Regions from separate parts of the Homo sapiens genome. Here region 2 is linked to region 1. The links are contacts of gene promoters, found by promoter capture Hi-C in blood cells and fetal thymus (Javierre and others, 2016). All regions are on one chromosome and are shown on one strand. The core of a region is centred on a gene start or on the middle of the fragment in contact, and the rest is flanking DNA. Distances in the headings are between cores, read along the strand shown.

Evidence for each region. The method cuts DNA at HindIII sites, captures the fragments that hold promoters and counts their contacts. A CHiCAGO score of 5 or more calls a contact.
Region 2: a contact is called between a fragment that was not itself captured here and the fragment with the promoter of WAPL in region 1, in 1 of 17 cell types (naive CD8 T cells). The highest score is 5.1, in naive CD8 T cells.

The regions. Positions count from the first base shown.
Region 1 is chr10:86,518,284-86,524,792 of GRCh38, reverse strand. It overlaps WAPL (WAPL cohesin release factor), which reads left to right and starts at 3,001. Exons shown (of 19, transcript NM_015045.5): 1 at 3,001-3,428. It overlaps WAPL-DT (WAPL divergent transcript), which reads right to left and starts at 2,846. Exons shown (of 2, transcript NR_186498.1): 1 at 2,384-2,846; 2 at 1-2,284. RefSeq lists silencers at 2,388-2,947, 3,088-3,507. The HindIII fragment of the contact is 16,574 bases long and covers 560-6,509 here.
Region 2 is chr10:89,706,014-89,712,522 of GRCh38, reverse strand. It overlaps KIF20B (kinesin family member 20B), which reads right to left. Exons shown (of 33, transcript NM_001284259.2): 3 at 3,270-3,356; 4 at 3,062-3,178; 5 at 2,458-2,596; 6 at 1,378-1,562. Among named protein-coding and RNA genes, the nearest start is that of KIF20B, 7.7 kb to the right of the region's middle. The HindIII fragment of the contact is 5,889 bases long and covers 1,240-6,509 here.

The DNA of each region.
Region 1 (6,509 bases), core at 1,752-4,251:
TCCTCACCCAGGCAGCACACAGGAGGGCAGAGGCCCCTCCTAAGGGTACTACAAACTTGGCTCTGATCCATGATTTCAGTTTCTGACAAACACAACATTCAGTGGGGGAAAGAAAATCAGGTATCTGAGAGCTTGCACACAGGCATTCTAGCAAAACCAAAAGCACCTACTGGCTACTTGATGTTAGTGTGAAGATTCTCATGAAATGGAGACAACCATTCTAGGGGTTGAGGTGGCCAGGGGGATGGAGCCTGAGCTGAGAGAACTAAGAAAACAAAAACAATACAACAAAAAGCTGTTCAGCCATGTGTTACCCACACTGGAGTTCTGTTTGCTCATTCTGGTGTGGAACCCAGGGCCCTGGTAAGGGAATGAGGGGACTTCAGGGCATTTGCTTGCCTCAGTGGAAGCAGGGAGGTAAGGGGTTAAGGTGGTGGTACAGCCTGCAGGGCCAGGAGTCTGAACTCCCTCCAGGAGGGGCCCGAGGGGTGTCTTTAGTGTGAGCCACACAAGGGTACAGAGCCCAGAAGAGCTCTGCTTAATATTCATATACTAAGCTTCCACAGACTAAATACACACACACACACACACACACACACACACTCACACACACTTTACTTCTCAAATCATGTACCACTTTCTACCAGATTCAAGAACACCAAGAAGTACTAAAGGGTATCCAACCGTCAAGAAAAAGTTTGACTCCCTCATTAGTTGTAACATACAAGTCTTCCCATTTCCTTACTTGTAAGATAGAGTAATGGACTGGGAAGCAGACAAGGCCCCTGAACAGCCTAGCATCTTACCTGATGCATAGGAGGTTCTTAATCATCTCCCTTCCTCTCCCTCATCCTAACGAAAAATACTAGATTGCTGTCAAATGCTATGGGTATACTTTAAATCAGTGCTTGTCAAACTTTAATGTGCAGCCCAATCAGCTGGGGGAATCCTGTTAAAATGCAGGTTCTGATTCAGTGGAGCTGGGGTGAGGGATAGGAATTATGCGTTCCTTACAGGCTTCCAGGTGATGCTACACTGCTGATTGGGGATCATTCTTTGAGTGGCAAGAATTTGACACTACTAAGTTTCATTACTTAACACAACCATCACATAAAAGCCCTCAAAAGGCACCAGTCTAAACAATAAGCCCTTCCACTTCAGCCTCATGCAGGCACTGACCCTGCCAAGTGTCCAGCACTAGAGAGGCCAGGCATAATAGACATATCCTTTGGTCTTGGGAGGATCACGACACCCTCCTACAGGAAGATCTTGCAATTGTTTCCTCACCTCTTCTGGTTTTTTGATCTTACCTTTTGCCTCTGATGATAATTACCCTTTAATTACCACCCACCACCTTGTCATCTAAATAATTATAGTAAGTGCAGCCTGCACCTCTGCCAGAAGATCTTTAAACAAAATGATAAAAACAAGTTCCTAAACTGCCAATTAAAAAAAGAGACAAAACTGACCCAAATAAAACAGTCATGTGCATCCCACCCACAGTGGAAGACATGGACTTGTTTTTCATATAAACTACAGAAGAAGTTGATTTATTTTGAAACAAGAAAAAGTACTGATTCAGTATTTAGGAAATTGTAAATGTCAGAATATAAATTCTGCAGTCAGGTAGGCAAAACAATCCAACCACACTAAAATCCACCTTAAATTCCTCTTGGGAAGAGCTGCAGGGTCTCTGAACTATTTTTCCTTTATTTGGAGTTTCCCCGATTATACCGGAGGGAGCTGGATAACTTCTGGGTGCATTAAAAGCAAATTATCCATTTGTGGGAGAAGGGCGGGCTTCTCACTGAAAGCAATTAGTAGTTTTCTAATTTCCCAGGTGGGTCTCCATTAACCGCCTAACAAACACCAAGGCTGTCGGAGTCCGACGAATCATGCACCTCTCTTAGGGGGAACTGGTTGCGCTACTCTTTAGAACGCTGTTTTCCCATGGTAGCCTTAAAAAAAACTTACCAATTTTCTGAATTAGGTAACACATTGAATGGGAAAAACCTAAGATAGCACAAAAAGGCGTACAGCGAAAAATTAAGACTCCTTCCTCCCGTCATCCGCCACCTCACTGTCCTCCCTAGAGGCAATCGCTGGTTCACTTCTTTAAACTTTTTATTATGGAAAATTTCAGATACACAAGTAAAGAGACTGTATGATGAGCACATATGCTCGCATCACGCAGCTTCAACGATGAAAAACGTTCTGCCAGCTTGTTTTATTCCTCTCCCCCAGTTTTCATAGGCGTATTTTACAGTCCTGACACCAGATCACTCTGTCAACACATCAGTAGGTCTTAAAAAAAAAAAAACAAAAAACCATAACCACATTACCGTTACCACACCCAACAAAGTTAATGATAATTGCTCAATACCATCCAATATTCTCGGGGCCACTTTCAATCGGTGAGGGGCAGACGGACTTAGAGGAAGGACTGCAGGGCTGGAGGGGCGCGAAAAAGCGAGGGGCGACGCTGCTCGTGGCCTCGGGTGTCCGGCGCCTCGCGGTCCCCGCCATCGTCACCTACGCCGGGCCAGGACCGACCAGGCCAGGTCGAGGGCGGCTCTTGACCACGCGCCCCCTGCCTCCCAGCTCCCGGGCGGCGGCCTCCGCAGGCCCGGCACAGCTGCACAGCCCGCGGTCCCCAGGCACCGGCGGGTCCCTGGAGGGGAAGCGATTGATACAGCTGCCTGCACTGCGCCACCCGCCCGGCTGCCCATCTCCGTGGCACCTGCGTCTCCCGGCTGGGCCGGGAGCTAGAAGTGGCTGCCGAGACCGGGAGGGCCCGGCCAGTCGCCCGCTCCCGCTCCCGCGCCTGGTCCTCGGCCCGCGACCTCGCGGACCTGGACTACAACTCCCGTCGGGCTCCGCGGCCGGGCCAATGGCGGGCGCCGGAGCATGCGGGGCGCAGCGCCTGCGCGGCGGTTTGAGTAAGCGGCTGCGCGATTGGCTGCGGGGTCGGGCGGCCGCGCGGGGACTGTGGGAAGCGGAGTGACGGAGCGAGCGGCTGTTGGAGGAAGGAGGTGGGGGCCGGGAGCGCAAATGGCGTTGAGATGGTTCAGGGCCCTGTTCAAACTCCAGCACTGACCATTCACCGGCGGAAGCGGCGGCGCAGGAGGCGGCGGCGGCCCAGCGGGGGCACACAGCAGGCTCTGTTACCAGCTCCAGCAGTGGCGGCCAGCGAGAGCTAGGCCTGGGCCCGGCCGGCGGCGCTCGAGGCGGGGAGGGAAGTTGCGGGGCCGCCGCTCCTGCCCCCCCAACCGGGCTTCCTATTTACCGAAAGCAGAGTCCCTCGCCTCTCTCGGCTCTCACCTGCCGGCCCTGCTCTCCCGCGCGAGGGTTCCGCGCCCGCCCGCGGGCCGTAGGGAGCGGGAGAGGCGGAGGCGGCCCGTGGCCAAAGCACCCGCCAGGCTCCGAGGGTAAGTGAGGTGTCGGGCGGCCGCCTAGGCCGGGAGGGAGCCGGGAGGGTGGGGGAGGCAGAGGCTGGGAGCGGGCGGTGGAAGTCTCACTGCCTCGCCCACCGGGCCGCTGAGGAAGTTGGGCAGGGGAATGACCTGAGGAACTCTTTTTTTCCCCTTTTATTTTCCTTTTTCGGAGTTCTTTTTCGGGCGACTGCTGATTGACTTAGCTCCCCAAACCCAGTCAAGTGTGTTGATTTCAGCCCCGAGTCCTTTCCCGTGGTTTCATCCGCCTCTGGCCGCCACTGGGGCCTTGCACTGCCTTAAGGATTCGGTGGCAGAGGCTTCCGGGGCGTCGAAAGTGACCTCCCTTTCCTGGGCGGCGCGGGTTGGGAGGAGAAAAGTTGCATTGAGTGTCTAGTCCGAGGGGTCCATCGCGCCCACTGCCCGTGGCGCCCCGGCTGTCCCCAGGTGAGGATTTCTGGTTAGTCAGGTTCGTCCCGTCCGCTTTCCATCTTTAATGGAAGCCCTTAAAGCCTTTGGGGATCGGGAAGACGCTAGATTAGGGTGGGAGTGAAGTATAAAGGCTTTTTGCTTTTTTTTTTTTTTTTTTTTTTTTAAATCACAGCGCACTTCTCTCAAAATTCGACCTGATTTTGGGCTAGGGCAAAAGCCGAACGACCGAAAAGACTTAGTCGTCAATCATTCTTTCCTTTTTAGTTAGGACAGTCTTTGGAGTTTAAAGGTTGAGCAAGATTGTGTACTTGAAACACTTAAAATTTAACTTCAAGGACGTCTGCACACTTATTTTGGAATCTGTAGTGCTTTACGCTTAGATAATGCCATTGCAAAGACATTTTATTGTGGGAAACGATAAAGGCAATCAGGAGGAGATATTATATAATGAACTTCTCTGTACCCATCGCTTGGATTTAGCAGTGACTATTAAACAAATTTATTTCATCTATACACTTCTCATTCCTTAATGTTGGAAAATCGCTGACGTTATTTCATCAGTATTTCACTATGTATTTGTAAAAGACGTGGTCTTTTGGCACAAAATTATTATTATCATTATTATTATTATTTTGAGACGGAGTTTCGCCCTTGTTGCCCAGGCTGGAGTGCAGTGGCGCGATCTCAGCTCACCGCAACCTCCGCCTCCCAGGTTCAATTGATTCTCCTGCCCCAGCCTCCGGAGTAGCTGGGATTACAGGCATGCGCCACCACGCCCGGCTAATTTTCTATTTTTAGTAGAAACGTGGTTTCTCCATGTTGGTCAGGCTGGTCTCGAACTCCTGGCCTCAGGTGATCTGCCCGTCTTGGCTTCCCAGAGTGCTGGAATTACAGGCGTGACCTGCCGCCCCCAGCCAGCACAAAATTATTTTTTATCACATAAAATAATTAAGTCCTTAGTGTCAGGTATTCATCTGAAGACTTCAAACTTTCAACAGTGAATGCTTTGTGGTTATAGAACCATTTTAACAGTTTTTCTGATGTTGGCATAAAGGAACTCAAGTCTAGATTTTTGGTTTGGCCTTTGGTTAGTATTTTTAGATGATTAGCACATAAGTGAATCCAAAACATTCCATCTTTGTTGGTGTGTATGTGTACGTACACTTACAGACCTGCAGGATCTCAGCTTTACATTCTTGAAGGAACAGAGAATCGATTTTTATTTTGTTGTCCGTGGTAGTTGCCCAGTATCCTGTTTTGTTTAGGCTGTACTTAACAAGAAAGACAGTAAGACTTGTTAGTGTTAGAGCTGCAGTGGAAGATGAAATACATCTCCTTCAGGAACACTGTTTTCTCTTAACGCAGATATGTATGATGACTAAATTATTACCTTGTCAAATTAAAATTGGGTTCTCACCAAACATGGGGGGGGGTCTACTACTGAATTTATATAAAACTCAGACAGTGACTCATTATAAATGGTAAGAATTTAAGTTAATCAAGGGAAAACAAGTGTAGATCAAAACATATTCAAAAGTATAGGTCAAATATAATTTCAATTCTTGTAGCTTTCAAAGTAATGATTTTTCATTCCTTAGGCCCTTGTTCACTTTTTAAAGTTATATTCGATGTATTCATGTTTGAACTGTAGAAAGGTCAAAGTGTTAGACAAACGGTTACTGATTGATCATGTTTAAAAAGTACTATAACTTTTTAATAGGCACAGAACTAATGCAAGTAACTTGTTTTAAAAAATGTTTGACTCTTGATTTACTGCCCTAAAGATTTTTTTTTTTGTCCTGTGAAGTAGATAAATCAGGTGAATCGATTTGCCATTTATAAATTGAAAAGGAAAATAAAAGTTGTATGTTTCTATGTCTGTATTAATCCATGAAACAGTGTAATATGCTGGAGCTCACTAGCCCCAGAAAATATAACTCAGCAAATGAGCACAGCACTATCGGGACAAGGCAGATAGGATAAGGATAGTTTCTTTCCCTAGGGAGATGACCATCTAAGGAACATTTTTAAAGTCACAGCGCAAATTACATTACACCAAGAAGCAGAATCTTCAAGATTGGGTTAAAAGCTGCAGGTTGTAAAACATGAGAAAAAGCACCATTTTGGGGACCTTTTTTCTCATGTGAATTAGTGCCATGAAATTTCAAAGAACTAAATTTAATCAAGTATTGGATATTTCTGAGGCCCTGAAAAAAACTAACATTCTGTGCTTAAGATTTTATATAAGTAATTACCCTATACAGGTTATCATTATATCACTGCAACCTCCATCTCCTGAGTTCAAGCGGTTCTTCTGCTCCAGCTTCTCAAGTAGCTGGGATTACAGGTGCGTGCCACCACTCCCAGCTAATTTTTGTATTTTTAGTAGAGATGGGGTTTCACCGTGTTGGGCAGGCTGGTCTCAAACTCCTGGCCTCAAGTGAGCTGCCTGCCTCGGCCTCCCAGCCTCTATACAGATAATTTTTTAAGGTAAAAATGATGTTTATAAGAATAGTAAATTAATTCATTTGGAACTTAATATGCTTCATTTTAAGTTAGCTTTATGGATATCGTATTATAAGTTGGTTAATCATTAAGTTTTTTTACTTTGTAAGTAGCGTAGGAATATGTACTCATTGTGGAGGA
Region 2 (6,509 bases), core at 2,935-5,434, 3.2 Mb before region 1:
AACACTTTGGAAGGCCAAGGGAAGAGGATCTCTTGAGGCCAAGAGTTCAAGTCCAGCCTAGGCAACATACCAAGACCCCATTTCTACAAAAAAAATCAAAACAGCCAGGAGTGGTGGCATGCCCCTGTAGTTCCAGCTATTCAGAGGAGGTCGAGGCAGGAGAATCACTTGTGCCCAGGAGTTCAAGACAGCAGTGAGCTATGATCATACCGCTATACTCCAGCCTGGATGACAAAGCAAGATCCTGTCTCTAAAAACTAAAAAAAGGAAGAAAAAAAAGAAAAACACAATGGGGGCAGGGGAGAAGCAAACAATAAGCCAGAAAATTTGCAACCCATACACTAATACATTAATAATGTATTCATTTTTTTAAATACATTTTAATAAATCAGTAAACAAGAAAAGTCATACAATACTAGATAAATGGACAAAGAACATGTGACAATTCACAGGAAAAAATTCTAAGATGTACTAATCAACTAATTTACAATTAAAAAAATATAAAGTAGGCTCAAGTGAGCCATTTTTCACCTATCAAACCAGACATTATTAAATATCCAATCTTGGCCTGAGTTTGGGAAAATTAGCACCAAATATATTTGCAATGGAATGTTTCTTTACTGAAACACTGTTCAAAATAGTAAAACACAGAAACAATACAAATGTCCATCAATGGAGACTTAGTTTTAAAAGCTGATTTAAAATTTAAAAAAACAAGTTAAAGACATAACAGATAAAACGCACATGATTTAAGGTAGGAAGAGATTTAAGATACGCTAAATGAAATACCAAGTCATAGAATGGTAAGCATAGTAAGATCTCTTTTTTGTTTAAAAAAAAAAATTATATCATACATATAAAAACAAAGGTATGAAGATATACACATCATATATATGACCATGTTTGTGTATATACAGATAGAAAGCTCTGTATATGGATTTTATATAGAGAGAGAAAAGGTCCAAAAACAATACTTCCCAATCTATTAATAATTTTTTCTTTAGGAATGAAATTAAAGGAAACTTTTACTTTTTACTTCTCACATTCCCTATTTTAAATTTTGGGTACATATTACTTTCACAATTAAAAAACAGAATTTTAAAAAATCATTACATAAAAAGCACAATGCTGGCTCTACAACAATCAAAAAAGATTTCAGAACCATTTACATTTGTATTGTTTAAACATTCTTGCTGTTGGTATAATATAAATACAAAAGATGTCTTCACACTTTAAGCTTTATTTTTCTCGAAAACATAAATAATAACAAAAAACACTACCACCACAAACCAGATTCCAATATATGGTGAAACAATCTAAAGGGTTTATAAGAAGTCAGGAATTATACATATTTTACATACTAAAATATTTCCATACCTCTTTAATTTGCCGAAGCAATGCACTTTTGCTAGCAATTTCTTCTTTCTCTTGTTCTGATGATAACCTTAAGTATTCTCTGGATCTATGTGGTTTAAGGTTCATCTTTGTATACAGTCTTTCTTGAAGACTATCAAATAATACATTCAAAGTTCGAGGCAGAATGCCAATATTTTCTTCTGTCCCTGCAAAAGGAATTTTTGTGTTATACTCTCTCAGTCTACTAGGAAAGAGGAAACTTTACTTGTTTATTAAAGCTCCTTTTATACTACCAATAGGCAAGAGTCAACAACTGAAACGGAAATGATAGCTAAGGATTACTCAGTTTTCCATCACTTTGTTATTCACAGTATTACCAACATTTTATTGACTATTATTCTGATGTAAACATGAAACTTTACATTCAGATAATGCAACCATATTAAGATTTGTAACCACCCATAATCACAAACTATAAAAGTAAAATGAAATATAAAATTTCTTCTGGTCATTTATGCTTAATTCTCTGTATCACATCAATACTTTTTCTGGATTTTAATCATCATCTAAATCTCTATCAATGGGTAAAGTATTTTTACAAATGAATTAAATAAATTTGAATTAAAAGCCAATAGCAAGGCCAGGCATGGTGGCTCTTGCCTGTAATCCAAGCACTTTGGAAGGCCAAGGTGGGCATATCACCTGAGGTCAGGAGTTCGAGACTAGCCTGGCCAAAATGGTGAACCCCCATTTCTACAAAAATATAAAAACTAGCTTGGCATGGTGGCGCACGCCTGTAGTCCCAGCTACTTGGGAAGCTGAGCAGCTCAGGCAGGAGAGTCATCTGAACCCAGGAGGCAGAGGTTGTAGTGAGCTGAGATCACACCACTGCACTCCAGCCTGGGCAACAGAGTGAGACTCTGTCCCTCCCCCGCCAAAAAAAAAAAAAAACAGCAATACGTAATAATATGCTAGTACTATTAAAAATAGAGCAAACGCATACTAGGTAATAGCAACATAACTACATGTATGTATTATAAAAACACTGAGTGATTATTATTGCTTCCTTATCCTTTCCAACCAAAATAAAACAATATTTACCTTGAAATGTATATGTTTTTCCTGAATTGGTTAGCCCGTAAGTAAAAATCAGACGACTCTGTCCTTTCAAGAGGTCTTTTACTGGTTGCATAATGCAACCCTGAAAGAATTCCTTCTGTGTAGTTGCTGGGCCAAAAACCTAAGCAAACATTTTTTAAAAACTCTTTTTAGAAAATTCAAGTTAATATTAATAGTGTGTTCCATCCCAACACTACTGTTTAAAAATTTAAAAGATTCATTCTTAAAATAGGTGCCACATCCCCACTCCCACAAATACATTTGATAGTTTTACTACCAGAAAGTTTTCAAGATAGAAATCTGTACCAGGGAATCAAGTATTCACCTAAGTTTTGAAAAGAATATTTCTTAAAAATATATTAATAATAACTTTAATAAAAATATAGTAATAATAACTTTAATAACACTACAGTGATCTCTTTACATCCAATTATATATTTCCAGACCTGAGATTTGAGTCTTATCCTTAAAATCTAAGTTGCATAAGCATAAAATGTATAGTTCATTATATACAATTATATAGCAATTTAGCCTAAGCCAAGTCTCTTTATCTTTAAAACAAAAAACAAAAACACTTCAGTTTTACCTTGGAAAAACTGAATTTCTGTGCCATCTGCCCTGAGCTTTTTTCACTTAACCGACCAAGGATGCATTGAGGCTCTTTCAGCACAACAGTCTGTGAATCCAGAATATGCACACAGCCCTAGAAAACATACCCCCAATAAATAAAAACTAGTATTTTGCCATTTTAAATGAAAGTAAAATATTAAAATTCTATTAAATTCAACACAAACCTCAGACTCAAGTTCTTTTTCTGACTGTGTAAATGGTCTTATTCGAAGACAAACCTGGAGATAATCTTTAGATTCGAAACTGTTTGCCTTAAAAAATAAAGGAGAAAAACATTGTGTTTTTGAAAGATACGGCTTTTCAGAGACCATTTTTCCTTAACATGGCTACTTTTTACATAATAATCTGAGATGATAAAGAATTTCTAAGCAGTCACTATCCTGCTTTTAATAATGTTAGAAAAACTCAATAAATCTATTTAAATAAAAACAAAATACACCAAAAAAGATCCAATTTCCTCCATCTCCTGTATTTATACGTGAAGTTTATAAAAAGGCTTTATTCCACAAAAGCCTAATATAATTAATGAGGCCCTAAGTCATTGGAAAATATAACTCTAGAATAAATCAAAAGTAACTAGAATATTCTATTATTCAAATGCTCAATTCCATGAGGTATTCAGAATTTTTTTACTATGTACCATTCTCCTTGTTACTTTTTCTGAGGAAGAAATGTGCATAGAAAATGTAATTTTAAAGAAATGTTTTAATGTTTTTTTAAAAAAGTAAAAAGGAAACAACTTGATAAATGCAACTTAATCAAAACAGACATAACTAGAAAATCTGAATAACCCAATTTCTATGAAGCAAACTGAATCCATTTTCAAACAAAATAATGCCACAAAAAAAAAAATTCAGGCCCTAGTAGTTTAACAGTAAATTCTATCAAACATTTAAGAAAATGATCAGGCCAGGAGCGGTGGCTCATGCCTGTAATCCCAACACTTTGGGAGGCCGAGGCGGGTGGATCACCTGAGGTCGGGAGTTCGAGACCAGCCTGACCAACATGGAGAAACCCCATCTCAACTAAAAATACAAAATTAGCCAGGCATGGTGGTGCATGCCTGTAATCCCAGCTACTTGGGAGGCTAAGGCAGGAGAATCGCTTGAACCTGGGAGGCAGAGATTGCGGTGAGCCAAGATGGCGCCATTGCACTCCAGCCTGGGCAACAAGAGCAGAACTCCGTCTCAAAAAAAAAAAAAATACAAATTGTACATAAACTCTTTAAGAAAATATAGGAAGAGAAAATACCTTAACTAATTTTGAGTTTGACATAAGCCGAATAACACAATTGACAAAGATATCCTCAGGAAAAAATTAGAAAACAAAATACCACATTAAGATATACGCAAAATTTCCCACACAAAATACTAGCCAATATATAAAACAGGATAATACATCTGACCAAGAATGGTTTATTCTAGGAATATAAAGTCTGTTTAGCATTCAAAAATCAATCCAGGCAATTAACCATATTAAAAGAATAAATGAAGAGAAACTTTTATCTCTACAGATGGGAAAACAGCATTTGACAAAATCCAACGTCCATCTGTAATAAAAATTCTCAGCAAAGTGTAATGAATGCAAACTTCCTCATCCTGATAAAGGGCACTTACAAAAAATCTATCGCTAACAACAAACTTAACAGGAAAGACTCAATCTAAGATGAGCAGCAAAATGAGTAATAAGAAGAGGATTTCTGCTTCCCCACTTCTAGTAACATTGTATTAAAGGTTCTAGCTGGTGTAATTGGGTGTGAAGGGGGAAAGGGGATGGGGGAAGAAAAAAGGAGGGGTAAGGGAAAGAAAAAGGGAAGAGAAAAGGAAAGGAAAAAGAAAGGTAAAAGGGAAGGGAAGAAGGGAAAGAAAGAAGTGGAGGGGAGAGGAGGGGAAAGAAAAGGAAAAAAAAAATGGAAAGAAAAAAAGGAAATGAAAAGACAAAAGTCATCCAAATTGGGAAGGAAGAAATAAAATTTTCTTTATTTAGAAACAACATGAACATACGCATACAAAATCCAACAAATCTACAAAAAATTAATGTATACTAACAAAATGCTAATCAGAGGTTACTTGGAGGTGTGATGGGAGGGAGCACTTACAAGGAGCCTCAAGGAAACTTTTGAGGGTAATGGTTATACTCACTATCTTGACTGTAGTGACAGTTACATAAGTGTATGCACATGTCAAAACTTATCAAACTGCGTATCTAAAATATATGCAGTGTTTCATTATGCCTAAATAAAGCAACTAAAAATATTTACAATAGCATCAAATAACATAAAATGTTTATAAATATATTTGACAAAAGACACGAAAGGCCTCTACATTGACAAGTATAAAATACTGCTAAGACATTAAAGACCTAAATAAAATGAAGAATACTGTGTTCATGGATTAAGACTCAATATTGTCAAGATGTCAATTCTCTCCAAACTGATCCACAGATTTAATGCAATCCCAGTCAAAATCCCAAGATGCTGTCTTGTAGAAACTGGCAAGCTGATTCTAAAATTTATGAATATGCAAAGGACCTAGAAAAGCCAAAATTTTCCTAGAAAAGCAAAACTGGAGAATTCACACTACCTAATTTCAAGAATCATTATAAAGCTACAGAAATAGAGAGTATTGTGTTGGAATAAGGACAAATAGGTCAAAGGAAGAGAATAAAATCCAGAAATAGATCCACATATACACAGCCGTTTGTAAAGCACCAAAACAACAGGGAAAGGAAAGTCTTTTCAATAGATAATGCTGAAATAACTACTTATGTAGTTAAAAAAAAAAAAATGTATGGAAGCTAAAAAGAAAAAGAAAAAAGTTAACCTGGGTCCCTATATCAACTGCACACAAAAACTGTTCAAAATGGACCACAGATATAACTACTCAAATGAAAACTAAAATTTCTAGAAAAAGTAAGACAAAAACTTTGGGGAAGGCGAAAGTTTCTTAAAGAGAACACACACACAAAAAAATTCACCAAAGAAGAAAAGAAAATGTTAAATTGAATGTCTTTAAATTTTAAAATGTCTGATCATCAAGACACTATTAATCTGATAAAGGATTTGTATACATAAAGATTTCTCACAAAACACTAATGAAACAACCTAATTTAAATGGGAAAAAGATCTGAAGAGACACTTTACAAAGAAAGTAGAAAAATGGCCAAGAATACTTGAAAGAGTGCTCATTAGAAAGGGCAAACTAAAACCACAACAGGATACCATTACACATCCACTAGAAATAAAAAGTTCCATTATCAAGTGTTAGCAAAGAGGTAGAAGCACTGGAACCTACATACATTGCCACTGCTGGGATAGCCACTTTGAAAAACAGTTTAGTAGTTACTTATAAAGTTAAACTTATACAGTTTGTATTCCTAGGTATTTACCAAAGAAAAATGAAAAC